Regions from separate parts of the Homo sapiens genome. Here region 1 is linked to region 2. Evidence: promoter capture Hi-C in human tissues and cell types (Jung and others, 2019). All regions are on one chromosome and are shown on one strand. The core of a region is centred on a gene start or on the middle of the fragment in contact, and the rest is flanking DNA. Distances in the headings are between cores, read along the strand shown.

Region 1 (6,191 bases), core at 1,251-3,750, 220 kb after region 2:
TCTCCTGCTCTCAGGTTCATTGTAAAAACCACCCGTGACTTGTTAAGCTACAGATTCCTGGGCTATGCTGCCACAGATGCTGTTTCAGTCAGTCTAGGGCTTGGCTGAGGAGGATATGAAGTTTTCCACTGCAGATGACTGTGACATAGGACAATGATGGGATGATGTTCAGACCGTGTTTTCAGAAACTCTGCCCCGGATTCACAAGGCTTTTCTGGTGTTCAAGGGACATTTCTTTGTTGTGAGTTGTTCTTGATAAGTGAGAGTGAGCATGCATGAGAATGTGTGTGAGCACGTGTATGTGTAAGCATGGGGTGGAAGTGAATATGAGTGTGACTGAGCATGTGTGTGCATGTATGAACATATGACTATAGTGTATGAGGAGGAGGTGGGACAGGGCAGCAGTCCTGGGGTAGGACACAGGGTTGGGTGTCATTGGCAGGAAGACACAAGCCCAGGATGGGGTGTAGGTGCCTGGCGAGGACGAGAAGGGCTGGGGGGATTGCACCAAATGACAAGGGAACTGAGAAGGGAGTCGGTGAGCTATAGGACAATGTGTTCCCCACAACTGTGGCCAGCAGCTCCAAGCAGCTGCTCCGCCTTCCTTCCCTAAAAACACAAGCGCCTGTGGTCAGTCTGAGTCCAGGAGCCTCATGTTATGAAAAGGTATCCTGTGCAGGGTAATGGAAAAAAAGGGCAAAGAAAGACAGATGGACCTGGGAAAGGATCTGGGCCGCGCTGGAGCTTGGCAGGCAGCTTGGCCCTCCCATGGCATATGGCCATGCGGGCAAACTGCATTAGCTTTGGTGCTGGATGGGCCCAGCGGTGGGGGATTTTGCCCTTATTTTTCTACTGCCCCTGTTTAAGGTGGACTCCTGGTGCTTGAGGTGCACCTGTGTTGCGGCGTGCTTTAAAAAATTATCCGCTCCCGTTTGGAAAGTGAAAGACATAATAATAGTAATAATAACAACTGTTAGTGTTTATGGAGGAGAGTCCACCATTCCAGACATCATGCTAAGTGCTTTTGGGGCATTCGCTCATTTAAATTTCAACCTGGGTGATCACAGACATCTTCTGGAATACTGATCCTGAAACCAATTTTAAAGCAAAGTATAGACATCCCCACTTAAAATATAAAACTTTTAAACAGAAATATAACATAGAGAAAAATGCACGAACCGTAAGTGTGCCCCTCAATGAGTTATCACAGGGGAGCACACCTGTGTGACCAGGTGAGCCTGCTCAGCTCCCTGGAAGCCACCCTGGGATCCTGCACAACCTCTAACCCCCTCCTCCTTCCCAAAGGTAATTGCTGACTTGGTACATCATGGGTTAGATTTGCCTGTTTATGGCCGGGCACAGTGGCTCAGGCCTGTAATCCCAGCACTTTGGGAGGCTGAGACAAGTAGATCACTTGAGGTCAGGAGTTCGAGACCAGCCTGGCCAACATGGTGAAATCCCATCTCTACTAAAAATACAAAAATTAACCAGGCATGGTGGCGCATGCCTGTAATCCCAGCTACTTGGGAGGTTGGGCAGGAGAATTGCTTGAACCTGGGAGGGAGAGGTTGCAGTGAGCCAAGATCAGGTCACTGCACTCCAGCCTGGGCAACAGAGCAAGACTCTATCTAAAAAAAAAAAAAAAAAAAGATTTGCCTGCTTATAAACTTCACATGCTTGAACCATAGCCTGTGTAATTTTTTGTGGCTGCTTCTTTCCTCCACATGGTGCTTGTGAGATTCATTCTTGTGGTTGCCTGTGACAGTTTTTCCTTCATTTTCTTTCCTGTATAGTATTCCATTGTGTGACTATACCACCCTTTTTTTTTTTTTGGAGACAGGGTCTCACTGTGTTGCCCAGGGTCACTGCAGCCTTCGCCTCCCAGGTTCTATCAATCCTCCCACATCAGCCTCCTGAGTGGCTGGGACTACAGGCATGCACCACCACACCTGGCTAATTTTTTTTTTCTTTCTTTCTTTCTTTTTTTTTTTTTTTTAGAGATGTGATTTCTCCATGTAACCCAGGCTGGTCTCAAACTCCTGTGCTCAAGTAATCTACCTGCCTCGGCCTCACAAAGTGCTGGGATTACAGGCTTGAGCCACTGTGCCTGGACTGCACCACATTTTATTTATCCATTCTGGAGTTGACAGAGGATTTTTTTTTTTCCTCCTGGTTTGGGTAGCTCCACTTTTTACCATTTTACTATTATTTTATGTCTGTGTGCAGCTCACAGTCAAAAGTGCTGGATTCATGTCCTGGATACTCTACTTACCAGCTCTGTGAACCTTGGGAAAACTAGCCTTTCTGAGTCTCATTTGTCTCTGCAAACAATAATGCCTAATTTCCCTTGGTTTCCTATTCAATCAGCAAGCGTTTATTGGTCACCTGCTATGTGCCATCATTCTAGGAGATTTAGCAGTGACCGACACAAAGATCCCTGCTCCACACGTTTGTACCTTTGTCCCTTCAGTTCCCTTTCTTTGGGAAGCTCTTTCTTCCCAGATCCATCCTTCTTCTTCCTTACTCCCACCCACATTTTTGCTTCTTTATTTTCTGCTCATCCTTCTAGACTGAAGTCTGACATCCTTTCCTTTCCTCTAGGAAGCCTTACATGGCCCCTGGCAGAGCACTGGCCACTGTTTACTGAAATGTTGGGGGCTTGGTCTGCACACCTGTCTCCCCCGTGATCTGTGAGCTTCCTCAGGGCAAGGGCTGATTTCCTGCACCTTTGGCATCTGCAGTGCCTATCCCAGGGTTAAGCTCAGGGTAAAGTCTTAGTACAAGTTAAGAACTTTTGTTTTAGCCAAATAAGCCAGTGTGATGGCCACTCAGGTCATACCTGCTGAGTTAGCACATCAAGACGGTAGTCCTGCCCCTGAAACCAGAACTTATTCCAGGTGGTTTTCAGGGGGTTCAGCCACATTACGGGGGTGATTAGGTATAAGGAGCCCTGGAGTTCTTCGGGCCAAAAAACTTGCTCTCTCCAAGCCTCTATTTTGTCAGTTAAATGGCTACCTTTTCAAGGTTATCTGGGAGACTTAGAGAAAGTATACTCGAAGTGCCTGGCGTCTAAGAATAACGATTTCATTGACTGAAAGCTTATTATATATTCAGCTTAAAAGGCACTTTACATATTTTAACTAATTTAATCAACACAACAGCCTGTGATGAAGGAGCTGTCACTATTTGTGTCAACTTACAAATGTGGAAACTGAGGCACTGAGTGTTTAAGGGACTTGCCTAATGCTACACTGACACAGCCAGTAAGTGGTAGAACTAGGAAGGAGACTGGTCTTGACTGCTACAGCCCACCTTGCCCAGGAGCTGCAGCCGCCACCCAGAGACCCAGCTCAGAAACTTCCAGACAGCATGGTAGCACAAAAGGCTGCAAAAACCTTCCTGATCTTTCTCTTCCCCTTTCCTTTAGGGCCAGTTCAGGCAGTGAAGTCGGAGCTTCCTTTGAAGTCTTCTCCCTCCTCTCCTGATGAGGCCTCAGGGAAAATGAGTCCTTTCCTTATCTCAGCAGCAAAGAAATTGTCCAAAGACAGCAGTAGCATCTCCGTGGGAAGCTCAGGAATACTAATGATAAAACAAATTGATAAATTCAATTTCAAATGTGTTGATGAGAAAAACTAATTGATAAGCTCATTCATTTATTTAACAAGTATTTATGGAGTACCAACTCTATGCCAGTGTGGAGAATTAACTCTAAACAAAACAGCTGAGGTCCCTGGCCTGATGAAGCTTATGTTCTTGAGTTGGGATGTTACCAGAGGCGAATCTGTAGGGGTCTGCAGCAACCTCAGTTCTTGCCTCTTTAGAAGAAAGAATTTGACCAAGGGGCAGACAGTAAAAGGAGAGACTGAGGCAAGTTTTAGAGCAGGAGTGAAAGTTTATTGAAAAGCTTTGCTGGCCGGGCGCGGTTGCTCACACCTGCAATCCCAGCACTTTGGAAGGCTGAGGCAGGCGGATCACCTGAGGTCAGGAGTTCAAGACCAGCCTGGCCAAAATGGTGAAACCCTGTCTCTACCAAAAATACAAAAATTAGCTGGGCGTGGTGGCATGCACCTGTAATCCCAGCCACTTGGGAGGCTGAGAGGCAGGAGAATCGCTTGAACCCGGGAGGCAGAGGTTGCAGTGAGCCGAGATCATGCCCGTGCACTCCAGCCTGGGCGACAGAGTGAGACTCTGTCTCAAAAAAAAAAAAAAAAAAAAAAAAAAAAAAAAAAAAAAAAAGCTTCACTGCAGAAACAAAAGGAAGGAAAGTATACTTGGAAGAGGATTAAGTGGGTGACTTAAAAGACAAGTTTGACCTTTCGACTTGGGGTTTTATATGTGGGCATGCTTCTGGGGTCTTACGTCTCTTCTTTCCTGATTCTCCCCTTGGGATGGGCTGTCCTGTCCGCATGAGCAGTGGCTGCCAGTGCTTGGGAGTGGAGCATGCGCAGTGTGTTTACTGGAGTTGTACCCATGCTCACTCGAGACGTTCTTCCCTTACCAGCCCAATGTCCCTTAGGAGGTCATATTCCAGTTAAACTCCACCACTTTACCTCTTAGGGCACATGTGTGAGCCCACTCACCCAACTGCTAAGATCTTACCAGGAAGCTACTGATCACCAGTTTCAGGTTTTTCCCTTTGATAGGACGACTGCGTTTCCCTGGCACTGGCTGGACCAATTATTATTTTAGAGAGACAGTTAAGAACCACCTGACCATCACCTGATGGTCCCCTGACATTCCTGGTGGTGGGTGGGGGGCCTTTCCTGCCCTGTTCATGTCTGACTAGCTACCTACTGTAACAGTATAAATATCTTTTTGACACTTTCATTTACAGGAAAGAAAATGCAAGAATGCTTGGAAAAAAAAAGACCCAAATACCAAAATTTGGACAAACTAAACAAGTAAAAGAAGAAGTGGCAGAAAGAAAACTTAGACTTCTTGAAATAATTAATGAAAGGATGTTTTGAAATAGCAAGTTTGTCCAGTATAGGTATAATGAAATTTGATTTACCAAAATTCCATTTTTTTCCAAGAATTTGTGGTATAACATGAAGCTTACCTTTCACAGCCAAGGCAAGGTCATCCCCCCCTTGGAGGACATGGTGCTGCTGATGACTCTTGAGACATCTCAACCTACAGTGGCTTCAAAACTTATGCCTTCAGCTCTGCCTCCTCCCCACTCCCAAGCTTCAAACTCAAATATTCAGCTGCCTGCCTGTCTATAGATCCTCTTGGATGTATAATAGCATCTCAGCTCCAGCATAACCAAAAGATAACTCTTGATTTTCACCCAAATCTTGTTTTTGGTTTTTTTCCCCTTAGTCTTTACCACTTCCTTAAATGGCAACACCTATTCAATTGCTCAAGCCAAAAACTTAGGTGGCACCCATATTCTTTATTGTGGCTATCAATAGCAAAGGCAGCTATTGTTTAATTGAGGGTAACAGAGACCCAAAATAACTGTGACTTAAAAAAATAGAAATCTACTTTGCTTATTTCTTCCTCTGGTAGAGAGGGAGGTAGGTAGTCCAGACTTCCTAGTGTATCTAAACTCCATGAACTCCTCGGGGATGCAGGCACCTTTCAGGTCATTGTTCCACCATCCCTGGATGTGATCTACCTCTTCATGACACAATACGACAGCAAAAGCACCAGTCATTGCATCATGGGTCCAAGTGGCAGGACCCCTGTAGGAAGGAGGCATGGAAAAGAAGGGGCAGAGAGCATATACTAGCTATCTTTTAAGCAAGGTAATTTTGCTAAGACTTCACTGGCAGAACTTAGTCACATGACTACATCACCTAACTATAAGAGAGGCTGGGAGATGTAGTTTTTATTGTAGGAAGTCATGTGCTTAGCTAAAACTTGGAAGTTTTATTGCTATGAAAGAATAGACCAGATATTGGGGTTAGTAGGAATGGCCAAAAGTTCCTGCCGTATCTGGGTTGTAAACTCTAGGCTACTGGGCCCCTGCCTGCTATTTGACCCCACCTCCTCGACCATGTTCAACACAATGTAGCCATTCTGGCCTCTTCTAATGTCCTTTGAATACACCAGGCTTATCCCTGCCTTAGAGCCTTTGTGCTGCCACTCTCTGCCCCTGAGATGCACCCTCCAGATTTGCACATGGCTGACTTCTCATTATTCCAGTTTTGGCCCAAATGTCAGATCCTTACTGGGCCTTCCCTTGA
Region 2 (6,407 bases), core at 278-2,777:
AGAGCACTGCACTGATAGAGAACAGTGACTGTGCACCTGATGTGCCGCAATGTGGTTTGGTGTTAAAAAAAATCACTCTCATTCATTACTAGTAGGAGTTCAAATGGGAACCACAGTTCCAAAAAAGCAATTTTGGCAACGTGTAATGACAGCCTTAAAACTATAAACACAAAGATGTTCCCTGCAGCCTTATTCATAATTTTTAAAAATAAAAAACAAACTAAACATCTAATAATAGGCTATGTAATCGTCCAGTAGCTCTAGTGGATGGACTATTACATTATTATAATTATTCAAATTAATATTTTCCCGCTTCTTCCCTGCTTTCCTTCAAGAGGTGGGGGAGGCCACCTGGCCCAAGCTGAAGGCCAAGATACAAGAAAAAAATGCAAAGGTTCTATTTTGGCAGCGTTTACATGGGCAGGGTGTCGTGGGGAGGCTGGCGGAGGGAGTGGGAGCAGGTGACAGAGAATATAGGGTAAGTTAGAAGGCTCTCAGTGCTGGTAAAAATAAAATAGAGTAAAGTAAAGGGTGGGGGTAGAGTTGAGGGGGGCGTGATCAGATTTCTGTTCAAATAGGATGGTCTTTTTGCTGTGAACTTAAGACTGCTCTAAGGCCAGGCGCAGTGGCTGACGCCTGTAATCCCAGCACTTTGGGAGGCCGAGGCGGGCGGATCACAAGGTCAGGAGATCGAGACCATCCTGCCTAACACGGTGAAACCCCGTCTCTACTAAAAATACAAAAAATTAGCTGGGCATGGTGGCACACGCCTGTAGTCCCAGCTACTCGGGAGGCTGAGGCAGGAGAATCGCTTGAACTTGGGAGGCAGAGGTTGCAGTGGGCTGAGATCGCGCCACTGCACTCCAGCCTGGGTGACAGAGTGAGACTCCGTCTCAAAAAAAAAAAAAAAAAAAGACTGCTCTAAAAAATAAAGTGTATTAAAAAGAAACTACGATGTTCAGTGTATGCTTCATCTACGGTCAAAGAGGCAAAGACTGAAGTGACAGTGGAAGCCAGGTGGTTATCTGGGAGGCTTACAAGACTATGTGATAGTATGGAAAATACTAGTATTAAGTGAAATGCTGGATGCAAAACTATGCATAGAGGGGAAAAACTGGAAAGAAATAGTAAACACAGCAAAAGTAGTTTGTGTGAAGGATAAATTTTTTAAAATTATTTTTTGTAGAAACAGGGTTTCTCTACATTGCCCAGGATGGTCTCAAACTCCTGGGCTCAAGCGATCAATCCTCCCACCTCGGCCTCCCAAAGTGCACAGGTGTAAGCCACCGCGCCCAGCCGAAGGATAAGGATTTTGGGTGGTGCGCTCTTTTCTCCTTTCCATTTCTGCATTTTCCAATTTACCTTTAGCGACCGTTCTTTCCTGTTAAAAAAAAAAAATTCACGACCTTGAAGAAGATACACGGGCTATGACTTCGCTGTTGTCACCGAGCGCCCCGCCCACCGCGTTCTCCGACCCGCGGCCGGCAGGGGGCTCGCGGCCTCCGCCAGGCGTCCTTCGGCTCCGTCAGTTCCCACAGGGCCTTGTGCGACATGGGCTGCGCCGAGGGCAAGGCAGTGGCGGCGGCCGCCCCAACGGAGCTGCAGACGAAAGGCAAGAACGGCGATGGCCGCCGTAGGTCAGGTACGACCGAGGGCGAAGGCCTGGTCCCCAGGTCGACGGGCCGAAGCGGGCCTTCCGGCCGGGGTTGGGGATAAAGTGCCCCGGAGCCCTGGCCTTGAAGCCCCTCACTGGAGTCAGTGACTGACCGCGCGCCACGCTGGAGACCCCAGAAACGCTCCCCCAGGTCACCCCGGGAGACGGAGGCCGGCGGCCGGCCGAGGGCTGCCCCGCCCGCTGGCTGTGAGAGAGGTGGGAGGTGGAAGGAGGAGCGGGCCCGCCGCGAGGACCTGCCCGGAAACCTGTCGGAAACCGAACCGAGATCTCGGCAGCGACCCGCCTGATTTCGCTCAGGGCCCGTTAGGGCGTCCTCTTCCTACAAGCACCGTGTTTCCAATGAAAGGTTACGGGGGAAGCGACCAAACCGACAGCCGAGTCCGGGGGTGCCCCTTCACCTCTCCAGAAGCCCCCGGCCCACTCCCAGCATCCTCCTCCATCGAGAATCTTGTCCGACACGCCTTCCCGGCCCCCTTTCTCCATCCCCTTGAATTTTGGGCACATTTCTCCCACCATCATCCCGCTTTATCCTTTCACTTGTTCTTCCAGAAGAGAAAGCTCCCAGTCTCTTCTCCATTGTCCGGATAATGCCAATAATGGCTAGTGGTTACTAAGCACTGACATGAGAGGGGCCTTTGGAAGCACTAGACATGGGTAATAATCTTGGTTCATGTTTCCAGCCATACTGAGAGATTTATCATAAACCCCATTATACAGATGAAGAAACTGAGAAGCAAAGAGGTTATAAAACTTACCCAAAGCACACAACTAGTAAGTGGAAGAGCTGGGATACCAGTTGAGGCCATCTGACTCAAAAGCCCTGGTCATAGTCATATGGCCGCCTCCACCTTTTTTATAGGCTTGAGAAAGTGAGGCTCCAAAAAGTGCCTTGCCCAATGGCTAGAATTATTAAATGCTGTAGGATCTGCCTCTTTCAAAGGCTTACAGTTTAGTTACAAGGCAGCATATGGTGAAGGGCTAAAAGGAGTGGTAAAAACAGCCAAGTGGGGATGGCAGCTCCCATAGATGAGGTAGGATTTGGTAGAGGTGTCTGAAGGGAGAACATTCTTGTTAGGGGAAGCAGCCGGTGAGACCATGCTAGAGATAGGGAGGCCTGTATATCCTGCTGGAGTTAAGGACTTGGATTAGGGGAAGGGAAGAATAAAGGAACAGGGTAGGAGCAAGGTCAGGCAAGGTCCAGGTCAGGCAGCTAATTTGTGGCCATTAGTACAATGAAGGAGTTTGAGCAGGTGCATCCCAAATTGACGTTTCATGTGCCATCCTCAGGATCTTCTTGATATCTATGTCCTTCCATTTATTTACTGTTTTTCTTTAGCTACATTCTTTTTGTGTGTGGTTAAAAAAAAAAAATTTACCATCTTAACAATTTTGTTTTTTTTTTTTTTTTAGTTTCGCTCTCGTTGCCCAGGCTGGGGTGCAATGGCGCCATCTTGGCTCACCTCAGCCTCCACCTCCCAGGTTGAAGCGATTCTCCTGCCTCAGCCTCCCAAGTAGCTGGGATTACAGGCATGCACCACCACGCCTGGCTAATTTTGTATTTTTAATAGAGACAGGTTTTCACCATGTTGGTCAGGCTGGTCTTGAACTCCTGACCTCAGGTGATCTGCCCACCTCAGCTCCCCAAAGTGCTGGGATTACAGGCATGAGCCACTGCACCCAGCTGACCCTAACCGTTTTTAAGTATACAGTTTTCAGCAGTATTAAGTATATTCACATTGTTGTGAAGCAGATCCCCTGAACTTTTTCATCTTGCAAATCTGAAACTCCATGCCAACTCGTTAACTTTTCATTTGCCGTTTCCCCCAGCCCCTGGTATCCATCATTCTACTTTCTGTTTCTGTGAAATTTGGCTACTTTAGATTGCTTATATAAGTTGGTATCATACAGTGTCTGTCTTTTTGTGACTGGCTTGTTTCACTTAGCATACTTGTCTTCGAGTTTCATCTGTATTGTAGCATGCGACAGGATTTCCTTACTTTTTAAGGCTGAATAATATTCCATTGTGTGTGTGTATATGTACATACACACACACATATATACACACACACACACACAAAATGGAATATATATACACACACACACCACATTTTTTTTTTCCCGAGATGGAGTCTTGCTCTATCGCCAGGCTGGAGTGCCGTGGCATGATCTTGGCTCACCACAATCTCCGCCTCCTGGGTTCAAGCAATTCTCCTCCCTCAGTCTCCCAAATAGCTGGGATTACAGGCCCGCCACCATGCCCAGCTAATCTTTGTATTTTTAGTAGTGACGGGGTTTCACCATGTTGGCCAGGCTGGTCTTGAACTCTTGACCTCGTGATCTTCCCGCCTCAGCCTCCCAAAGTGCTGGGATTACAGGCTTGAGCCACCACGCCCGGCCTGAACTATTTTATAATACAGAAAAGCTCACTCGTTATAATACAACTTGCTAAATTTTTACAAACGAAGTATATGCATGCAGCCCACACTCAGCTGAGGAAATAAACGTTTCCAGTACCCCAGGAGCCCCTCTAATGTCTCTTACCCCCATACCAAGGGCAAACACTACTCTGATTTCTAACAGCATAGAAGAATTTCACCTATTTACATTTACTTTTTGAAACTTAAATTTAGGCATATTTTAAGCATTAATCTATTAAAGCACGGCTTTATACTAGGTATTTTTCTTTTTCTTTTCTTTCTTTTTTTTTTTGAAATAGGGTCTTGCTCTGTTGCCCAGGCTGGAGTGCAGTGGCCCAATCATAGCTCATTGCAGCCTCAACCGCCTGGTCTTAAACAATCCTCCCACCTCAGCCTCCTGTGTGGTAAAGTGTGCCACCAAGCCCAGCTAATTTTTTTACATTTTGTAGAGATGAGGTCTTGCCATGTTGCCCAGGCTGGTCTCAAACTTCTGGGCTCAAGTGATCTTCCCACCTTGGCCTCCCAGAGTGCTGGGATTACAGGTGTGAGCCACTGTACCCAGCCTAGATATTTTTCTATACACATACATATATACATAATGATGATTATTATTTTTCTAGAGATGGGTCTCACTCTGTTGCCTAGATTAGAGTGCAGTGGCATGAATCATAGCTCACTGAAACTGAACTGCTGGGCTCAAGTAATCCTCCTGCCTCAGCTTCCTGAGTAGCTAGGATTACAGGGACACACCACCATGCCTAGCCTCAATTTTAAATTTTTTGTAGAGATAGGTCTCACTAAGCAACAGCCCCATCTGATCTCGAACACCTGGCCTCAAGTGATCCTCCTGCCTCAGCCTCCCAAAGTATACTGCACCAGGCCCATATTATACATAACTATTGACATTAAAAATGTTCTTTTGTGTGTCACCTACAAACACTCTAGAAGCCACCTTCCTTAAGTACCATATGATCTCTAAGTTCCTTCTCAAATTAAAATTATGTGGTTAAGTTTCAAGAAACTAATTTCTTAATGATGCAGAAGGTTTTGCTTGAATGACTCTTCAACCGAGCATCTATTATTTATCAGGCACTGGGAACTCAGGGATAAACAAGGCATGATCTCAGTCCTTGAACATAGAGTCTCGTGGAGAAGAATGGCGTAGAAAATGCAGTGTCATGATGTGTAATCATAAAAGTAGATGGGTACACACCACTTCAGGAGAATGGCAGAGGGAGTTAACATCTTGGCACTTAGCATTTAGTATTTCTTCTGTAACACACATTCCATTCTATTTTAATGAGCTTGCAAACATTTTTCCTGCTGGATTTTTGAGGATCAGGAATGTGTTTTGTTCACTATCTTATCTCCTACAGTCCTTGGCATACTGCCCTACAAATCAGTAAATGTGTTTATATGACTCATATGGCAAAAGGCAATTTTTTTTTTTTTAATAAGTGAGGAATGTTCCAAAAGCCAATGCTATTAACATTGACCAGCTTCTTCTAGTAAGGAGAGGAGACAGTATTTTTTCAAAGTGCGGTCCTAAGACCACCTGCAAGAGAATTAATTACATGCTGGGAATGTGTAGATTAAAAACTCATTTTCCTGTTCTCCATTTCAGACCTACTAAATCAGCCTCAGAGTGAAGGAAGCTTCATTTTTGGTGTCTCAAGTGATTCTATTTGAACCAAGGCCTGAGAACACTGCAGTGAGGTGTTTAGGCCAGCGTCAAATCACCTATTTCTGGGCAGAGGTGCCTATCCTTAGCAATGGGGCTGAGGCTGGGGTGGAGGTTGCTACTGCAGATCACTGAGGCTGATAAGGGTGAGTCAGATGCCCCAAGAGGAAATTGAAAGCTTTGGAATGGAACCAAAGATCGTGACTGACATGCAGTCATGCAATCTGCAATCAGAAGTTAGTATTACACGATGCGCTAGATAATTGTAGAGTAATCTTGCTTTTTGTTGATTTTAACCAGGTAATTTAAAGTCATTACTCATTATTTGGATTTTCACATTTGAATGTTTACTCTTTGTATTAATGTGTACTGAGTATTTAAAGCTTTTAAATTAGCTTTTTTAAAAAGTGTATTTTAGGCCAGGTGCGGTAGATCATGCCTGTAATCCCAGCACTTTGGGAGGCCAAGGCGGGTGGATCATCTGAGGTCAGGAGTTCGAGACCAGTCTGGCCAACATGGTGAAACCCCATCTCTACTAAAAAAATACAAAATTAGCTGGGCGTGGTAGCACACACCTGTAATCCCAGCTACTCAGGAGGCTGAGGCAGGAGAATTGCTTTAATCCAGGAGGCAG

What was found. Contacts are between HindIII fragments. The study calls those that stand out against the background at their distance.
Region 1: a fragment that was not itself captured here is called in contact with the fragment with the promoter of TXNRD1 in region 2 in 2 of the 25 tissues and cell types used here (bladder and heart left ventricle).

The regions. Positions count from the first base shown.
Region 1 is chr12:104,432,536-104,438,726 of GRCh38, forward strand. No RefSeq gene overlaps it. Among named protein-coding and RNA genes, the nearest start is that of CHST11, 21 kb to the right of the region's middle. RefSeq lists an enhancer at 3,626-3,795. The HindIII fragment of the contact is 3,140 bases long and covers 931-4,070 here.
Region 2 is chr12:104,214,252-104,220,658 of GRCh38, forward strand. It overlaps TXNRD1 (thioredoxin reductase 1), which reads left to right and starts at 1,528. Exons shown (of 17, transcript NM_001093771.3): 1 at 1,528-1,642. The coding sequence starts at 1,552. RefSeq lists enhancers at 1,304-1,920, 1,921-2,536, 5,195-5,339, a silencer at 1,391-1,480 and a cis regulatory region at 5,262-5,272. The HindIII fragment of the contact is 11,252 bases long and covers 1-6,407 here.